Regions from separate parts of the Homo sapiens genome. Here region 2 is linked to region 1. The links are contacts of gene promoters, found by promoter capture Hi-C in human tissues and cell types (Jung and others, 2019). All regions are on one chromosome and are shown on one strand. The core of a region is centred on a gene start or on the middle of the fragment in contact, and the rest is flanking DNA. Distances in the headings are between cores, read along the strand shown. Region 1 holds the start of ATP2A2 (ATPase sarcoplasmic/endoplasmic reticulum Ca2+ transporting 2). Region 2 has its middle 11 kb from the start of C12orf76.

The links. The method cuts DNA at HindIII sites, captures the fragments that hold promoters and counts their contacts. A contact is called where the count stands out against the background at its distance.
Region 2: a contact is called between a fragment that was not itself captured here and the fragment with the promoter of ATP2A2 in region 1, in 1 of the 25 tissues and cell types used here (mesenchymal stem cells).

What each region holds. Positions count from the first base shown.
Region 1 is chr12:110,279,744-110,282,970 of GRCh38, forward strand. It overlaps ATP2A2 (ATPase sarcoplasmic/endoplasmic reticulum Ca2+ transporting 2), which reads left to right and starts at 1,504. Exons shown (of 20, transcript NM_170665.4): 1 at 1,504-2,164; 2 at 2,861-2,878; 3 at 2,970-3,052. The coding sequence starts at 2,047. RefSeq lists enhancers at 1,012-1,081, 2,199-2,953 and silencers at 1,172-1,771, 1,862-2,371. The HindIII fragment of the contact is 9,241 bases long and covers 1-3,227 here.
Region 2 is chr12:110,057,988-110,061,214 of GRCh38, forward strand. It overlaps a transcript of C12orf76 not described here. Among named protein-coding and RNA genes, the nearest start is that of C12orf76, 11 kb to the left of the region's middle. The HindIII fragment of the contact is 4,989 bases long and covers 1-3,227 here.

The DNA.
Region 1 (3,227 bases), core at 254-2,753:
AATTGGTACGAAATGGTGCAGAGCTGGTCTCAGAGGGCAACAACAGCCAGCCCTCCATGACCACACTCCCACCGTGCACTCACGTGCCCCTCTTGAAGCGGCTCTGATCCTGTGACCTAACCAGTTTCCACCTGGCTTCTCTCAGTGCGTTGCCATATAGTATAATTTTTTGTTTGTTTGTTTCGTGTAGGGTTTTGTTGGTTCTTTTCCAAGTATCAATCAAAACTACATGCCAACGTCCACTCCTTGGAAATAATTAAATGACATGACGTGCCTGATTTTTTCAGCTGGTGATGCACTGTAATTTGCATCTGCTGAAGGAATTTATCTTAAGTCCTGAAGCCCAGCCACTTGAGACAACTGAGGTGATTTTTCTGCTCTGCTTTTGCTCATGCGGATGGTGCGTTATTGTTAAACACAAAAGTGGACTAATTGCTTCATTCTGCAACCTACTCCGTGAAGAAAGCTGCTCTTCTTTGTGAAGAGAATATGTTCATGTTTTGTTCATGAATTCCATGCAATTTCCCATCCCCTTGTTAAGTAATGTAGCTTCTTTATATTGGCAAAATTCCCTTTATCTTGCTGTGACCTGCGCTTTGTCCTCCCGAGCAGAGCAAATCATCTGTGGTTTAAGAGCAGCTTTGGATTCAAGTCCCCTTTTCTCCTGTCGAGGGAAGTGAGTCTATGAAATGGCCTTCATCTGAAAGCCACAGCGAAGCACCTCCTAGCCCAAGTCTAGCTGCTGTGTGGCAGCTCCAGCGGCGTGAACTGTGACTGCCCTGCAGACACCTATCAAGCGCTGCGTCAGCTATTAATAATAAAATCAACTCTTCTCCCTCCCCCCCGCGAGGGGGGTTCCCTCGTCAGGGCCCAGAACCCGCTGGGGAAGAATCGGGGCTGGCGTGCGAAGGAGCTGGCGGCAGGGGGTGTAGGATGCGGTGTTCCCGAGGCGACAGATGAAGGATTTGGGTTGTGTGGGAAGTGAACTGCGGAATTCCTCCCCTTGGTTTCTGAGGGGGGCTCTGAAGGAGCCAGATTAGGATGCAGAGCGCAGCCCGGGCGACCGAGGGCGAGGAGGCGAGCCAAGGACATCAGCCCGAGGGCGCCTCGAGACGCCCCGCGTGGACCGCGCTCCCAGCTCCTCGGCCTCGCCTTCCAACCATCCGCCCACCGGCCCCAGAGCAGCGTGCCCACTGTGAGCGCCCCACCCTGCGTCTGCAGGTGGGTGGGTCAGAGAACCGCAGGCACAGAAGAGGGTACCCAGCTTCCCCTCCGCCAGCCCCGCGACCGCGGCGCGCGCGGCCTCGATCCGGGTTCCTAGGGGCGGCGCGCGGGAGGGGGCGGGGCCTGCGCGGCAGCGTGGGCGCCAGGCGCGCGGGAGGAGGGAGCCGGGAGGAGGGGGCGGGGCCGCGCCGCCCGCGCCGCGCTGGGCGCTCTCGGCCAATGAGCGGCGTCCACATGCCGCGGCGGCGGCGAAAGGGGAGGCAGCGGCCGATAAATGCTATTAGAGCAGCCGCCGCGGAGCCGTCCCCGACGCCACCTCCTTTTCCTTCGCCGCAGTTTCCTCCGCCGCTGTCGGGCGTGCGGCGCTGAGGGACCCGGGCGAGCGCGCCGCGCACCGCCCCGCCGGCTCGCCTCCCTCGCCGCGTTCCGCCCTCAGTGGTCTGCCGGGCGCCCCCTCCTCCGGCCCGGGCGGGGCCTCTGATCGCCTCAAGAGAGCGGGGAGGGGGCTCGGGGGCCGCGGCCTGCCCTCCCGGCGGGCGGCTGAGGGCGAGGGAGGCCCTCCCTTCTGGCGAGGGGAGGGAGGGTGGGTCAGGAGCCCCCAACCCGCCCTGCGGAGCTCGGGGCCGCGCGAGGGGCGGTTGTCTGGGGGAGGGGGCGCGGGGTGATTCAGCGCCCGGCGAGGCGGAAGCGGCCGCAAGAGGAGGAGGGGAGAGCCCGTCCGCGCCTGGGCTCCCGGGGTGGCACGAGCCCGCGGCCGGAGTGCGAGGCGGAGGCGAGGAGGCCGCGGGGACGGGAGGCGAGGCCGGCCGGGCCCCCGAAGCCATGGAGAACGCGCACACCAAGACGGTGGAGGAGGTGCTGGGCCACTTCGGCGTCAACGAGAGTACGGGGCTGAGCCTGGAACAGGTCAAGAAGCTTAAGGAGAGATGGGGCTCCAACGGTAGGTGCAGGGCGCTCCGCTGCAGGGGCCCGGCGCGGCCGGGAGAGCCAGGGAAGATGGCTGACCGGGCTCCACCTCGTGGGCTTCGGCTCCGCGCCCGCCGACAGCTGCGGGCGGAGGGTCGGGCCAGCGCGCCGGCCCCGCGGGAGAGAAAGGGGCTGCGGTCCTCGCCTCGCCTTCCCTGGACCTCTTCGCTTCTCGGGCCCTCGACCTTTTCGGCGCGCAAGGCTCGGAGGCTTCTCTCCAGCAGCAGCCGGCCCCGGTGGAGGGAGGGACGTGGCTTCTGCAGCTAGGTTGAGCCCGGCAAGACGTTTTCTCGTCCCCTGCCGATTTATGAGGAGTCGAGGTCGTTGGAAGGCCTCTGACCGTTCTTGTCCTACCCAAAGTTACACATCTGGCAGAAGTGATGACATCGCTGAAACCACTCCTAGGTTCAGGAGCCCGAAGTGATTTCACGCTTAGGGCTAGACCTCAGGCCATTGATTACAAAGAGTGCATGCTTCCTTGAGATATCTTCGTGGTATGCCCTCTGCTAAAAAAATCGGATATTCTTATAGCTAGGTCTGTGTTTTAAAGATATTGATGCTTAGAATTGTAGCAGTTCTTTTTAGAAAAACGAAGTGCTAAAATGTCTCTCTCTTTTTTTTTTTAACCTCCCTCTTGACACATTGCTTGACGAATTTCTACATTCTACAGAGTTACCGGCTGAAGAAGGTAATCTTAACATGCTGTTTCTGTTTTTTTTCCTCTGTTGGTGTGCTGATGGTAAGATGACAGTTAAAACACATGTGTTTGTTTCTTACAGGAAAAACCTTGCTGGAACTTGTGATTGAGCAGTTTGAAGACTTGCTAGTTAGGATTTTATTACTGGCAGCATGTATATCTTTTGTAAGTATAAAAAAATTTATTTTCTTTCCCCCCAAAAGCTGAAAGTATTCCATAGATAAATCAGAAAACAAATGATGTCCATTGGGTGAAAACATATTTGGAGTTGCAAGCTGTGTCTCTATGTTTAAAAACAATCTGGGCATTTTAAAATTACAAAACAAAACACTTGAAGCCA
Region 2 (3,227 bases), core at 381-2,880, 220 kb before region 1:
CATGAGGCGGGGATTGCAGTGAGCCAAGATCACGCCATTGCAAACTCCAGCCTGAGCAACAGAGAGAGACTCGGTCTCAAAAAAAAAAAAAAAAAAAAAAAAAGAAGATCCCAGCACAAATCACTCAGGCAATCATTGTTGAAACTTTTGAGTGTCTTCTAGATATCTCTTTATGTCCACACCTAGACACACAAACAGATATACTGATGTTACAAACGTGGCCACACTACAGGCTGCAGGCTGTTTTGTAACTTGCTATTTTTACTCAATAATATGTTATTAATTCTTTCTATGACAGTAAAGATATCTGTGATAAAGATAGATCTATGATACACAATCATTTTCAGTGGCTAAAGAGTATCCTAGTGATTGAATATATGAAACTGCCCATTTTGGCAGGTCATGGTGCCTCACGCCTGTAATCCCAGCACTTTGGGAGGCCAAGGCGGGCAGATCACTTGAGGCCAGGAGTTCAAGACCAGGCTGGCCAACATGGCGGAAACCCTGTCTCTACTAAAAATGCAAAAATTATCCAGTTGTGGTGGTGCATGCTTGTAATCCCAGCTACTTGGGAGGCTGAGGCAGGAGAATCACTTGAACCTGGAAGGCGGAGGTTGCAGTGAGCCGAGATCATGCCACTGCACTGCACTTCAGCCTGGGCAACAGAGTGAGACTCTCTCTCCAAAAAAAAGAAAAGAAAGAAAGAACTGCCCATTTTGTAGGCCATAGCTATAGAATACAGGCAGTTCCATATGGCTCAAGCTAAGAGGTACATTGTGATAATTTGCCAGTCAGTCTCTGGGATAGATATTTAACTGTAACTTTTGTTCAATTTTCCCAATTATAAACAATTTTTGGTAACCCTAATATGTCCTTACCATGTGCCAACCACTCTTCTAAGTCTATTTTGCTGACATATATTAACTTTTGCAATTCTTACTCCCCCCCACCAAAAAAATGAAAACAAAAACCAACTCTATAAGGAAGGTGCTAGTATTACCTCCACCTAATAGCCGAACAAACTGTGGTATGAATGAAGCGAGAAGCTTGTCCAAGGTCACATGGTAAACAGCAGCGCCAGCTCTGAACGCAGCCATCTGGCTCCACAGCCTCAGCTCTCTTAAATGCTATGGTAAATGGAATTATTTTTCCAATTTCCTTTTCAAATGTTCCTTGCTGGTGTAAAAAAAAATGCACACACACAATTAATTTTTGTGTGTTGATCTTGTTCCTTGCGACTTTACTGAATTGGTTAATTAGCTCTATCTAATAGTTTTCTTGTGAATTCTTCGGGATTCTCCATATATGGGATTGTGCCATCTGTGATTAAAGATAGTTTTACTTCATTCTTTGCCATCTGGATGCCTTTTATTGCTTTTCTTGTCTAATTGCTCTGGCTAGAACTTCCAGTACAATGTTGAACAGCAGCGGTGAAAGCGGGCATCCTCGTCCTGTTCCTGATCTCAGGAAGAATGCACTCAGGCTATGCTCCTAACAACTGTGCTCACTGTCTGTCCACCCCACATTCATGTTGCCAGAAATCCCTGCACAAGCTTCTTCACACACCTAAGGCATTAAGTCTATACAGGACTTCTGGGTCAAAGGGTGTGCACATTTTCTATCTGAGTTTATTTTCCTAAATCATAAATGCTTGAACCATTTCATGCTTCCATCACCAAAGCAAGAGTGTGTACACTGCCTCTTAAGAGGGGCTTGACAAACAAGCGGTGTGAACTTGGTTGAGACAGTTGAGGGTCTGGTCGCCAGGCTGAGAGCACATGGCCTGTAGGATGGAGGCTGTGAGTTTGAAGAAGAGGAGAGACATAGTAGCAGTGTGCAGCCATTTGAAGAGGGACACAAGGCAAAACTAAGCAAAGGTGAAAGTTACAGGGGGAAAGATTTTGGCTCATTTTCTCAGGAAGAAAAGTGACAGGGCAGTCCCAGAGCAGAACAAGCTTTCCTTGTGGTTACTGCTGGTGATGGTGAGGAAGATGATGAAGATAATTTTCATTTACCACATCAACTTCCCTTTCTCTCCTGTCCCCTTTCCATCTGCACTTAACATCATTTCTCTACTAAAAATACAAAATTAGCCAGGCATGGTGGCACATGCCTGTATTCCCAGCTACTCAGAAAGCTGAGGCAGGAGAATAGCTTGAACCCCAGAGGCGGAGGTTGCGGTGAGCCGAGATCACCCCATTACACTCCAGCCTGTGCAACAAGAGTGAAACTCTGTCTCCAAAATACCCCCTCTTCAATCCCACATTCTCTTACCACCACTCCATGCCTCTCTTCTTCATAGCCAAGTCCCCTGAAAGAGTGAGTCATCATATCCATTTCTGCATCTCCATTCACTCCTCCGCCCACTCCAGTCTGGCTCCCACCCCCATCCCTTCTCTAAAGCCTCTCTTGCCAAGTAAACAACAACGTCATTGTCACTAAATCCAATAGACACACCACATAGCTGATCTTCCTGGAACTCTCAGCACCAGTTGACACTGTGACCATGCCCCACCTCCCTCACCTCCTTCCCTTAGCTTGCAGGAATCCACCTTTGCCTGACTTTCATTGGATCTCTGTGGCTACTCCTTCTCAGAATCCTTTGGGGACTTCAGCACTCCCACCCCTTAAAGGTTAGCCCTTCTCCGGGGTCGGTTCTAGGCCCTCTTGCTTTCTCATCTACTTCTTCTCTTGCTGGTGAATTGCAGCTTCTTCCATGGTTCTAGTTCCCATCTATATGCTGGTGATATAGAAACCTACATCTCAGGCCAGGCGCAGTGGTTCATGCCTGAAATCCCAGCACTTTGGGAGGCTGAGGTGGGCGGATCACCTGAGGCCAGGAGTTCAAGACCAGCCTGCCCAACATGGTGAAACCCAATCTCTACTAAAAATACAAAATTAGCCAGGTGTGGTGGCGGGCACCTGTAATCCCAGCTACTCAGGAGGCTGAGACAGGAGAATCACTTGAGCCCGGGAGGCGGAGGATGCAGTGAGCTAAGATCGCACAACTGCCCTCATATCCCTTAGCTCATTGCAATAGAGGAAGAGTAATTCATGCAGAGCCAGCTCTGTGGGGGAGACCAGAGACTCTGACTCAAAAAAAAAAAAAAAAAAGAAACCTACATCTCAGCTCCAGATTCATATATCCAACCACCTATTCAACATCTACATGCATATGTTCCATGAACACTTCGAACTCAATGCCTTCAGTTCTGACCTCATCTTCC